4 separate regions of the Homo sapiens genome follow, and all the other regions are linked to region 3. The links are contacts of gene promoters, found by promoter capture Hi-C in blood cells and fetal thymus (Javierre and others, 2016). All regions are on one chromosome and are shown on one strand. Each heading gives the region's core, a stretch centred on a gene start or on the middle of the fragment in contact. The rest is flanking DNA. Distances are from core to core; before and after follow the strand shown.

What was found. Contacts are between HindIII fragments. The CHiCAGO score rates a contact against its expected background, and 5 or more counts as called.
Region 1: a fragment that was not itself captured here is called in contact with the fragment with the promoter of ARL5A in region 3 in 1 of 17 cell types (neutrophils); the score reaches 5.6 in neutrophils.
Region 2: a contact is called between a fragment that was not itself captured here and the fragment with the promoter of ARL5A in region 3, in 1 of 17 cell types (total B cells). The highest score is 5.8, in total B cells.
Region 4: the fragment with the promoter of RBM43 here is called in contact with the fragment with the promoter of ARL5A in region 3 in 8 of 17 cell types (non-activated CD4 T cells, fetal thymus, total CD4 T cells and 5 more); the score reaches 12.0 in non-activated CD4 T cells.

Annotation. Positions count from the first base shown.
Region 1 is chr2:152,624,933-152,627,632 of GRCh38, forward strand. It overlaps FMNL2 (formin like 2), which reads left to right. Exons shown (of 26, transcript NM_052905.4): 16 at 506-630; 17 at 1,593-1,795. Among named protein-coding and RNA genes, the nearest start is that of PRPF40A, 91 kb to the right of the region's middle. The HindIII fragment of the contact is 5,332 bases long and covers 1-2,700 here.
Region 2 is chr2:152,665,924-152,668,623 of GRCh38, forward strand. The region is part of intron 16 of PRPF40A (pre-mRNA processing factor 40A); the gene reads right to left. Among named protein-coding and RNA genes, the nearest start is that of PRPF40A, 50 kb to the right of the region's middle. The HindIII fragment of the contact is 185 bases long and covers 1,319-1,503 here.
Region 3 is chr2:151,827,047-151,829,746 of GRCh38, forward strand. ARL5A (ARF like GTPase 5A) reads right to left here and starts at 1,375. Exons shown (of 6, transcript NM_012097.4): 1 at 1,085-1,375. The coding sequence starts at 1,130. RefSeq lists silencers at 991-1,040, 1,091-1,600 and an enhancer at 1,651-1,700. The HindIII fragment of the contact is 9,661 bases long and covers 459-2,700 here.
Region 4 is chr2:151,260,589-151,263,288 of GRCh38, forward strand. It overlaps RBM43 (RNA binding motif protein 43), which reads right to left and starts at 1,275. Exons shown (of 4, transcript NM_198557.3): 1 at 1,137-1,275. The coding sequence starts at 1,139. RefSeq lists a silencer at 819-1,088 and an enhancer at 1,129-1,358. The HindIII fragment of the contact is 8,034 bases long and covers 1-2,700 here.

The DNA of each region.
Region 1 (2,700 bases), core at 95-2,594, 800 kb after region 3:
GCCTTCATGACGTTGTACTTCTGGTAGTCTAGTCAGCCACTGTCTGCAGTCCCTGATCATCTTCTAAGGTTTGTTTGTAAACATGTGGTCTGCAACCAAGAATTTAGGATGTCCAAATATGGCAAGTTTTTGCCCTCTCTGCTATCTAGTAACATGAGTAATAATCTTTGCTCTCCAACACTTTTTATTTGTCCCAACCATTGTCCTAATATTGTAACTGTAATGCAGCAAATTAGTTGCCTGAGTTAAAAGAAAAAAAAAAATCAACCCTTGGCCCTTAAGACGTCTTTTAATACAATGATGTGTTAGTCAACCAAATGATGACCTCAAATGGCTCTGGCCAAGGCCATGTGTGTTGTTTTCCAGCTTTAAAAACCTACTTGCGCGCCTCTTGCCAACCTTCCTCCAGTGTCAAAGTGTCATCTGCAAGGACTGTTGTCTGATTGTTCCTGAGGGTCGTAGGCTTTTGGTGGGATCTTAATTCCATTCTCTTTGATGTCTTTAGCTGTGAAAATTAAGAAGCCAATCAAGACGAAGTTCAGAATGCCAGTGTTTAACTGGGTTGCTCTGAAGCCCAATCAGATCAATGGCACAGTCTTCAATGAAATTGATGATGAGCGAATTCTGGAGGTATTTTTCTCATTGGTTAGAAACTAGAGGTGCACTCTGTGCAGCAAAGCCGGCATGGGTGTTCTGTTAACCTGGAAGTGTCAGAGATAAAGTACTAGTGTTTTAAGTCCCCTGATGTAAAGAAGAAACATGTATGTAATATTGGAGAATAACATTTGACACTGTTTTGTAAGGTGGCTCTAAAACTGTTCAAAGAGTTATGTTAAATTGGAATAAATGCTTTTGAGCATCTTTAGTGTATGCCACAGAATATAGATCTGACATAATAATTCCTTCCCTTAATTGAGAGAAAGACATAAAAACTTTTGGACTGCAAGTGAGCTCAATTATCACACTCACTGCCTTATCTGATGGATAATTTTAATCTGTGGCAGCTGTCTGTGCAAGCTAATTATTGAAAAGTAATTGAATTAGTGGGTTAGAATCGGTAGTCTAATGTTCACTTATTTTTTTATTTTATTTTATTTTTAAATTATTATTATTATTATTTTTTGAGACGGAGTCTCACTCTGTCGCCCAGGCTGGAATGCAGTGGCGCAACCTCGGCTCACTGCAACCTCTTCCTCCTAGGTTCAAGCAATTCTCTGGCTTAGCCTCCCAAGTAGCTGAGATTACAGGCACACACTACCATGTCTGGCTATTCTTTGTGTTTTTAGTAGAGAGCGCATTTCATCATGTTGGCCAGGCTGGTCTCAAACTCCTGACCTTAAGTGATCCACCCGCCTTGGCCTCCCAAAGTGCTGGGATTACAGGCATAAGCCACCACATCCGACCTATGTTCACTTTTGTGTATGTGCCAGAAGTTGTACTATAACAAAAACAAGAAAAATAGAGGAAGCCATGGCCAAAGACAAGTACTTAATAGAAAAAGTGACGTTTTTGCTTAAGAAACTAACTGGTGGCTTCCGGACTTCATTTTTAAATATAATCCAATTTTCCATGGTCATTCCTCTCTATCTTAGGATTTAAATGTGGATGAATTTGAGGAAATATTCAAGACAAAAGCCCAAGGACCTGCCATTGATCTTTCTTCAAGCAAACAGAAGATACCACAGAAGGGATCAAACAAAGTGACATTACTAGAAGCAAACAGGGCCAAAAATCTTGCCATAACTTTAAGGAAAGCTGGAAAGACTGCTGATGAAATATGTAAAGCTATTCATGTGTAAGTTCAGGAAAATTATATTCTAGTTAGTTTATGATAAAATGAAAATGAGAAAGTTATGAATTAGTAGATGACAAATATTTCAATAGTGAGACAAGACCTAAGATAAAAGCTGGAGCAATTTTTGATATCCACACTTGAGAGATCTGAACTCTGTGTGTGCTACTTCAAAGTTGAATATGATGCCAACACGAAAGAGGTAGACCAGAAATCACCCTGGGGAGTGTTGTATTAGAACCAGTAACTAATTGTTTTAGAAGAATAACATCTGGATTGTGACATCATTTATTATCTGGGTCTACTCTCTTATGCGGGCCTCCAGCAATGCTTACATAAAAGGAAAGTTGAGCTGAGCGTGGCAGATGTTAAGAAAAGGTAGAAAATGTCAGTTTTCTCTGGAGTATCTGGATTTTATCCAGATTTGTTGAATACAAATTTGATGGCATTTGTGGAATGATACAGTTCAATGCCAGATGCAAATATGATACAGATGCATATTTTAATTCGTAACAACAGGAATGTGAATTGTTTTGCTTTCAGTACTTTCAGGACATTTTAAACAAAGTTCATTTTTTACTCTTGAACTGCATAGAAGGCATTGGTTTTACTCCTCTATTAGAAGAATCCTTCTATTCTTCTTGTGGCCATGGTGACTTTCAAATGTGATGAAGACATTATTAAATGTTTTAGGAACTAATTATTTATAAATTGATTATCTTATACATTTTGGTTAGAGGCTTCGAGGTGTAAATGACCCTAAGAAATCCTTTGTTCCAATTTTGTGTCCTCAACCAGGGTCATAATCTGGTAGTCCAGTGCCTCCTACAGTCTGTTCTGATTTCTGTCATTGAATCCTGAAGTGCAGCCTGGCTTTAAATCTTTATATATCTTGTTTGTCATGATGA
Region 2 (2,700 bases), core at 161-2,660, 840 kb after region 3:
TCTTATTCTATTTTACTTGCCCCATTTTAGGGGTGAAAAAGCCTTGCCTTTTACATTATGGAAAGCAAGTTGCTTCAAAGATGGCTGAGCTTGATGTTTCTTCTTCCCGTGGCACTAATGACATCTTGGATGACGTAATTTTTTTTTCTTTCTTTCTCTTGGTTGAGGGCGGGGTATGTTTGAGCCCTGTACATTGCAGGATGTTTATCAGCATCTCTCGCCTCTACACACTAGATGCCAGTAGCATGTTCCCCACAAATAGTGACAATCACAAAATCTTTCTTGGTTGAGCACCACTGTCTTAGATCCAAATCGGTATTAATTTTTCTCCATCTTCATCCTTCTTTTTGTTCTCTTATATACTGTTCTCAATGTAACTGTATTCATATATATGCTTGAATTCCCAACTTTCCGAGATGTTGTTTAATGAGACTCACCCTTATTTTTCAATTCTTCCTTCATTCTCTCCCTCTTAACTGGTTTCCTCTTACCCAAGAAAAGCCTTTCTCTTAACTGCAAGCTTATTTGAATTTTACCTTATTGAATATCTTTCAACTATTTGGCAGACCTTTAACTTTCCCTACCATGCCAATGGTCACTAAACACCTTAAATGCCACTCTTAACACCTTAAATGCCACCCTTAACAGTATTCTTTCAGTCCTCATTCCATAAAAATTTCTTAACATGTTACTTTAGGTGGATTCCTTTACCTCAGGGGTTTCTCAAAGACTCATTTGAAGGACTGTTTAAAAAAATCATATTGTTAGGTCCCATTTCCAGAATCTGATTCTGTAAGTCTGACGTGGAGTTTGAGAATATGCATTTTCATAATTTCCCAGGTGATACTGATTCTGTGCATTTGGGGATCATGCTCTATCTTAAAATTCCAAACTCTTGGCTTCTGAGACACTATACATTCCTCTGGTTCTCCTTGAAAGCCTCAGATCAATCCTTTCCAGACAAAACTGACTTCAAATACCAGTTTTAAGACATAAGAAAAACAAGATCATAGTTTCCTTGTCACAGACATGATGAATTTTCTGATTAGCAAATGAACACTAAATAAAAAGCTAGTCATCATCATAATCATAACTACTGAGAAGCTCTCCATTAATGATCTTTTATTGTCTAATGCCAATCTTCTCTTTTAATTCATTTCACTAAAGTCCTAAATAAATCTTTTGAAATAGCACAACAGGAAAATTACCAGGCTGAATATCTGAAAGAATATTAATACAACATACTTAACACCAATTATATTAGTAGTAATCAGAAACTATGCCAGACACATAGCAATCTGATTCAAAGCCACATTTAAGCTTATTTAAGGAACCGTAACAGCCTTCACATCAAAATTTTGCCTCACAGTCTCCATCTTCAATATTGTTTACATTATAGTCTCGTATTTTCTATGACCCAGACCTTATTTTCACTGTATTATTATTTTTTCATATATGTCTCCTTATTTTAAACCACTGCAAAACCTTCATCAGAGACATTAAAGCTTAAGTTGTGGAAGAGTGTATAATAGCCCTCCTAAGAATCTGTCCTCCCCTTCTTTCTGGGCACATGGCTGCTTAGCTAAAAGCTAAGTTTTCTAGCCTCCTTTGTGTAGCTAGTTGTGGCCCTGTGACTAAATTCTCAGCAACTGAACCCAAATGAAGGAGGTGAGCAGAACTTCTACATCATTAGCTTTAAGAAGAACTGTTCTTTCTACTTTTTCCAAGTTAAAATGTGAAATGGGGGCAGCATACCCCTAACTCTGCAGAGAAGGTTAACATGCTAGCGCACTGGTTCTCAAACTATGGTCCAACAGTATCAATATCACCTGGAAATTTAGAAATGAAATTTTCAGACTCCACCCCAGACTTACTAATTCAAATTCTTCAGGTAAGGCTAAACAATTTGTGTTTTTAACCGTTGTAGAACATGATCAAGTCTAGAAAGTCACTAAGATAAAGGAACCTATCAAGAGTAGTAAATGTTAAGTTTTCATTGAATAAGGACTGAAATCTTTCTACTGGCTGTGACGTTTAACACAGTAACCTTTGGCATAGCGCGAATAATTTTTTTTTTTGGAGACAGGATCTCGCTCTTTTGCACAGTCTAGAGTGCAGTGGCACCATCGCAGCTCACTGCAGCCTTGACCTCCTGGGCTCAGGTTCTCCCACCTCAGCCTCCTGAGTAGCTGGGACTACAGGCATGCACCACCACACCCGGCTAATTATTATTATTATTATTTTGTATTTTTAGTAGGGACCGGGTTTCATCGTGTTACCCAGGCTGGTCTTGAACTTCTGGACTCAAGCAGTTGCCAGCCTCAGCCTCTCAAAGTGCTGGGATTATGGGCATGAGCCACCGTGCCCGGCCAGAAGAAATTTTTTAAAAATCCTCCACTTCATTCTGATACACTGAATTTTGAGAACCACTGCCTTAAGGGATGGCAATATGCCCTGCCCTAGACCAAAAAGACTGTTACTTCAAGAAAAAAACTTATTTAAGCCATTGTAACCTAGCATTTATCCTAATACAATGGTTAATGGAAGAGACCCTGTAATCAAAACTGCATGGATTCAAATTCTGGCTTCACTATTCAGCAGCTGTTGAACTTGGGCAAGTCACTTCACCTCTCCATTTCCTTAGTTATATAAACTTATATAACAAAAACAGTAAGTACCCTTATAAGGTAAGACTGTCAT
Region 3 (2,700 bases), core at 125-2,624:
GGTGTACATAATAGATGCCACCATTCACGTAAGTCTTTATTGGAAAACTGGGACGTGACACCATCAGCTTACACAACAGAAAAACACAAACTAAGTTCCTGACAGCGGAATGATGAACCACCCAACTTGAGTTAAAAAGAAACAAAAGTACACCACTGTATCTTAATAAGTATCCAGTCTTTGGGTTAAAATTGTATTCTCTTTCCCCAGTTTTAGTCATTTTGTAACAAATTTTAACAAGCCTGATAGGTATTTCATGGCCATGTCTGAAGTTGGCTGAACTTAAGCATCCCTATATAACACACTTTACACTTAGTAACTTGCTAGTTACCTATGGTTAACAAATGTTTCATATGGTATGTTTTTAAAACTTTCAGTGAAACACTTTAACATTTTTAACCCAGCAAAACAAACAAAAACTGTGTCTAATAACCCACACGAGTAGAAAAATGACCTTAAGCTTAACCTTAAACACAGATATAATAAGTAAAACAAATGGAGAGAAGTCCATCTCTATTCAGGAGGCAGAAGAACCCCCCCTGCCCCCAACACACACAAAGACGGGTGGCAGTGGAGGGCAGGCTCATAAACCAGAGGTGTAATGGACAAGTCGAGCGATTCCTCCCGTTTTCCGCATTCTGCAACCCTCGGTCGCTCAGTGGTGCGGTTAGGGCAGCAATCTATAACCTTCATTCCAGAAGACCCCAGCACTTCTATGTGGTGTCCAAACACAACTGGTGAGCAAAGAAAGGGCTGAAAGACAGGCCAGGCCGTGCTACTCAGGGACGTCGGACCTAGGGCAAGAAACCTTTACCACTCTCATTCGAAATCGGAGCAATGGGTCTATTACGGAAAAGACTTCTTAGGAAGGTCTCCTAAGACAAAGGGCTGCGAGTCAGGAACCATCCCCAAGCTCGGGAGCCGGGACCGAACCGTCCCGGGCCCGTATCCGCGCAGCCTGCACCCCGCGCTGAGCTGGCGCCCGACCGAGCCGCCCACATTCCGAAGTATTCGGAGACCCCCACCTAGCCGGCCCGAGCTGACCCTCTCCCCAACCCGTACGCCCGCGGACCGAGCTCCTCACCCTGGTGATTGAACAGTCTCCATATTCTAGTGAAGAGAATTCCCATTCTCGGGCAGCGGACCCCCCCCCTCCAGACACCCGGGCCGCCTGGCTTCCCCCGGCTCAGGCTGAGGGGGAGGAGAGAGACGCGCTGGAGCCTCCGCCTCTGCTGCTGCTCCCGCGCTGGTCGCGGGCCCGCTTCCAGGGAACCGGAGGGAGGCCGAAGCCCAGGCCGCCCTGCCGCGCGCAAGGCCCCGCCGCTGCCGCCGCGGCACTCGCCTGGCTCGCGGACATCGCCGCCGCGTTGTCTGCGACGAGCCTCGCGGGCCACCGTCCTCCCCCAGCTCCTCTCGGGCGGCTGCGGTGGCGACGACCACGCGGGCGGGGGAAGTGAAGGGGCGGGCCTGGAGGGACGTGAGTGCGCAGGCGCGCGGCCAGAGGGGCGGAGCGTAGGAAAGGGCGCCCGCCCTGTCCTCGCTTATTTGCATAACCAAGACTGCGGAAGGCGCAGGACTTTACCCTGGGACTGAGGCTGTGAAGACCGCAAGTTGGGGCAGATGGCTTCCGACTGCTTGCTGTTGCGTCCCCGAGTATTTATATTTCCCTCGAATCTTCTCCACTGCGCCATAATGTAAACATATAATTGAGTACCCCATGTCCATCCCCAACCCTTCACATACACTACACTTAAAGTTCCACGTCATGACTCTTTAAGACATTGTGTCCCCTGTGGGTCTTTGAGGGAAAAGTCTGCTGCCCTCTGACACTCAGCTGAAGTCAGTGGCCTTACCTAGATAGTCACCTTAAAGCCATTTTTGCACTTCAGGGCTCTTTTCTCTCCAATCTCTTAACTCTCACGTCAGTATTGCCCAAAACAACGATTTTGATCAAGTCACTACCCTGTTTAAAAACCTTTAGTGGCCACCAAAGCTCCATCCCTTTCTGTTCTCGTTAACCTTAGTAAAAAGGAAAATAAAGAAAAATTGGGAGACTTGTAGGAGCCATTTGAACTGCTTTGCACTCCCATCCCCAACAGCTGAATGAAATTAAGCAAAATCAGCAATAAACCGCACCTTCCCAACTCACTTCTCCTAACTACCCAGTATTTTACCTCAAAATATAGAAAAGTAATTTCGTTGACTTCTTTTGGGGCTTTATGGTTAAAAAGCCAAAGTTTAGAGGAGCCATACATGAAGGGAAGGAAAATCATAGTAATCCATATTAATTTATGTATTATCATGTCTGGATTTACTTAATATTCTGTACACTGTTTAGAAGAACAATGTAGTTTGTATAACCAATTTGCATTAACTCTGTAATATTTCCATTCTCGCACACCGTAGGTAATGCTTTGGTAGCTCTAAGACTTTTTCAGACTCCCACACAGATGTCAACTTATGAAATGGATGTCATATACACATTATGTGATGGCGGAGCTTCATATTTTACAATCTACCCAAGGAAATGGTCTCCCAGGTTATTTTCCGAGTGAAGAAAGAAGAGAGAGAGAGAGACAGAGACAGAGAGTTTAAAGACCAATTTATCTATGATTACAGAGAAATGCAAAATGTCATTGGAGAGACTTCTGACTTCAGGCATGAGAGAGTAGGATGGTTTGAATATATCCTCCTACCATT
Region 4 (2,700 bases), core at 25-2,524, 570 kb before region 3:
ATGTAAATTTTGTTTGGTAAGAACTAGTTTCTATGAATCATCTAATGAATTAGTACTTCAATGACTTGCCAATATTTGTCCTTAACTCCCTTTCATAGGTTGGAGAAAGTATGGCTAACATAGATAATTTTACTGAGGTCAATTATGAATAATGAGGGTTGTTCATCTCTTCTACCCACGATTAAGATAAAGAAATGCCTAGAGAAAGACAGTCCTTTCAAGGACTTTGAAACGAGCAGCTTTTAGCCAAGACATACTAACGTGATGGCGCATTTCCTTGCATCAGTATTGTGTTATAACAGACTTGGCCATCTTATCAGAAAGCAAAAAGTATATAGCAAAACTTTACTTTTGTAAGTAAGGCATTGGGAAGAAACAGAAGATTCATTGACTGCATTTGTTTATATTGATTTTCTCAAAATCAGTTGTTTATTTTCAATGACGACGCCTCTACCGCCACCAGGTCAACAAAAACGTACTTGCTTTTGCATTTCCGGGACTCTAGCATTTCAGAGCAGGAATTAAAGGCCTTGCCAAGGCTTTTAAGCGATTGATGGAAACAAAACAAAACACAGAAGGATAAATTTTGAATTTGCTAAGACAAGAATTCGCACCAAGGCAGACATAAGACATGAGGATGTCTTCCTGACTTGCGTCCTTGGCTCGAATCGTTCTTATTAGCCCTTTTCAAAAGGCAGCTGTGACCTCCATTTCTGGCTAATCAGGCCACTTTTGTTCCCCCCGAGGCGTGGGAGGACAACAGTTAAGCCCTAACAGCCTGCGAAGCAGCTCCTCGACGAACGGCGGCGTCCCCGTCGCCTGGGCAGTGGGTGTGGGAGGTGACAGCCTAGTCCTGAGCCTCTGGAGCGGGCCTATACTGCACCGCCGTACGTGAATTTCAGGAGCGCGCAATGCCGCCACCTGGGAAGGGTGCAGCGAGGCTGACCTGAGTTTGCCCGCCGGGGTGGACGGCTCTCCGGGGCCCCCGGGGTCCCTGGGGCCCCTCCGTGCGCCGCCCCCTCCCGCGCAGCCCTGCACCCTGGCCCGTCGCGCCCGGTTCCGCGCCCTTCTAGGGGACCATGGCGACGGTACAGGCACGGACCTGCACCGCAAAACCCAAAGCAAAAGCAACTTGCCATGGCGGAGGGGAGACGCGCCCTCAGCGGCCGCAGAAAGCCCACAACCAGCGGAACGCAGGCGATGGGGAGAGGAGCGAGCAGGCAGGTTTTGGTTTCGTTTTTTGTTCCAGCTCCCTTGGAGGCTACGAAGAAAAGGGCGGTCCTTCCACCCGATCCGGCTGTTCTGCGACCTCGTGGCCTCTGAGTGGGAGCTCGGACTCAGGAGTGCTGTTGCCAGCGCCTGCCCAGACGCCCTCCGTAGTTTTGCAACTTGTGGAAGCACTCTGGAGAGAGGCCGAGAGGATTCCTCGACAGGAAATTTGGGAATTCTCTGGGTGATGCATCAGTGATTGCAATTTTGTTTTTACCCGTTTTGCTAAGCAGCAGCAACAACGGCAGAGTTGATTTAAAAAAAGAAAAAACGCAAAAAGGGAAAACACATAGTAGGTGGTGGCCGCTTCCTGTGTTGATACTGGGGGGCTACGCTTTTCCTAACATCAATCATCTCGTAGTTGCAGAGAGCCCTAGATGTCATGATAGTTTTGAATCGCATGCATTATCATGTAAGGGAGTTAAATATCTTGCATGCATGCTCTCTTCTGTGTTTATATATTCGATGCCATGAAATTGAAGGGCATGTGGCTAAAACCTTTTTACTACATGAAACTTTACAACACTTTTGAAAACATTTCAATTTGGTTGATGCGCACTGTAATATTTCTCCAGATAACTGTCCAAAATTTTCCATGGAGAAGGCTTTTATCCTCATTAGTTGCTGGCCTCAAACTAACCATCTAGGATATTAAACTTCTGCCAGAATTTTACATCCAGCTACCTTTACTTTTTAGAACGTATTCTCTATCATGTTATTGATATCAATTTCTACTTCACACAGATGGTTTTTTACAACAGCAAATCAAGTTTTTCTAACATCAGTTTTAAAAAGCCCTGCACTCAGTGAAATCTGGATGTCTTTCCTACGCCCTTATTATCTGTCCAGACTTCTTCCCCTTCCCCCACCGCTCACCTGGGCCTTTTCCTCTGCACAACCTACCCCAGTTCCCCAACCCCCACCTCAACCCCCAACGCCGTGTTGGTCACCTTCCCAGCCCAGACCAGGAGCCCTCTTGGACCTCTGCCGGGTGCTAAGGACACAGGATGAGAGCGCCAGGTCCCTGCCAGCAGAGAGCTCACCACCTTGTCCATGCCTTAGCACAGGAACCCCGAATGGCGCCTGTGGGGACACAGGGAATCTCTGGACAAACTTCAAAATCAAATCAATGAATGCATGAAGAACAAAGGTAGATGGCTAGCAGATATGAAGAAACCCAATCCCACTCCTAAGAAATGTAAATTGAAATAATAAGATACCATTTTTCACAACTAGATCTGCAAAACCAGAAAGTGTTAGCCTGAATGTAAGCATCAGAGTTGCTGCAAGCATAGATGGATGCAAATACTTCTAAAGATTTTTATCAAAATGTAAAGTGCAAAAAAATGTAAAATGCACATATTCTTAGTCTCAGCAATTCTACTTTTAGAACTGAACTTGAAGTTATAGTGCGCAAATGGCACTAAGATA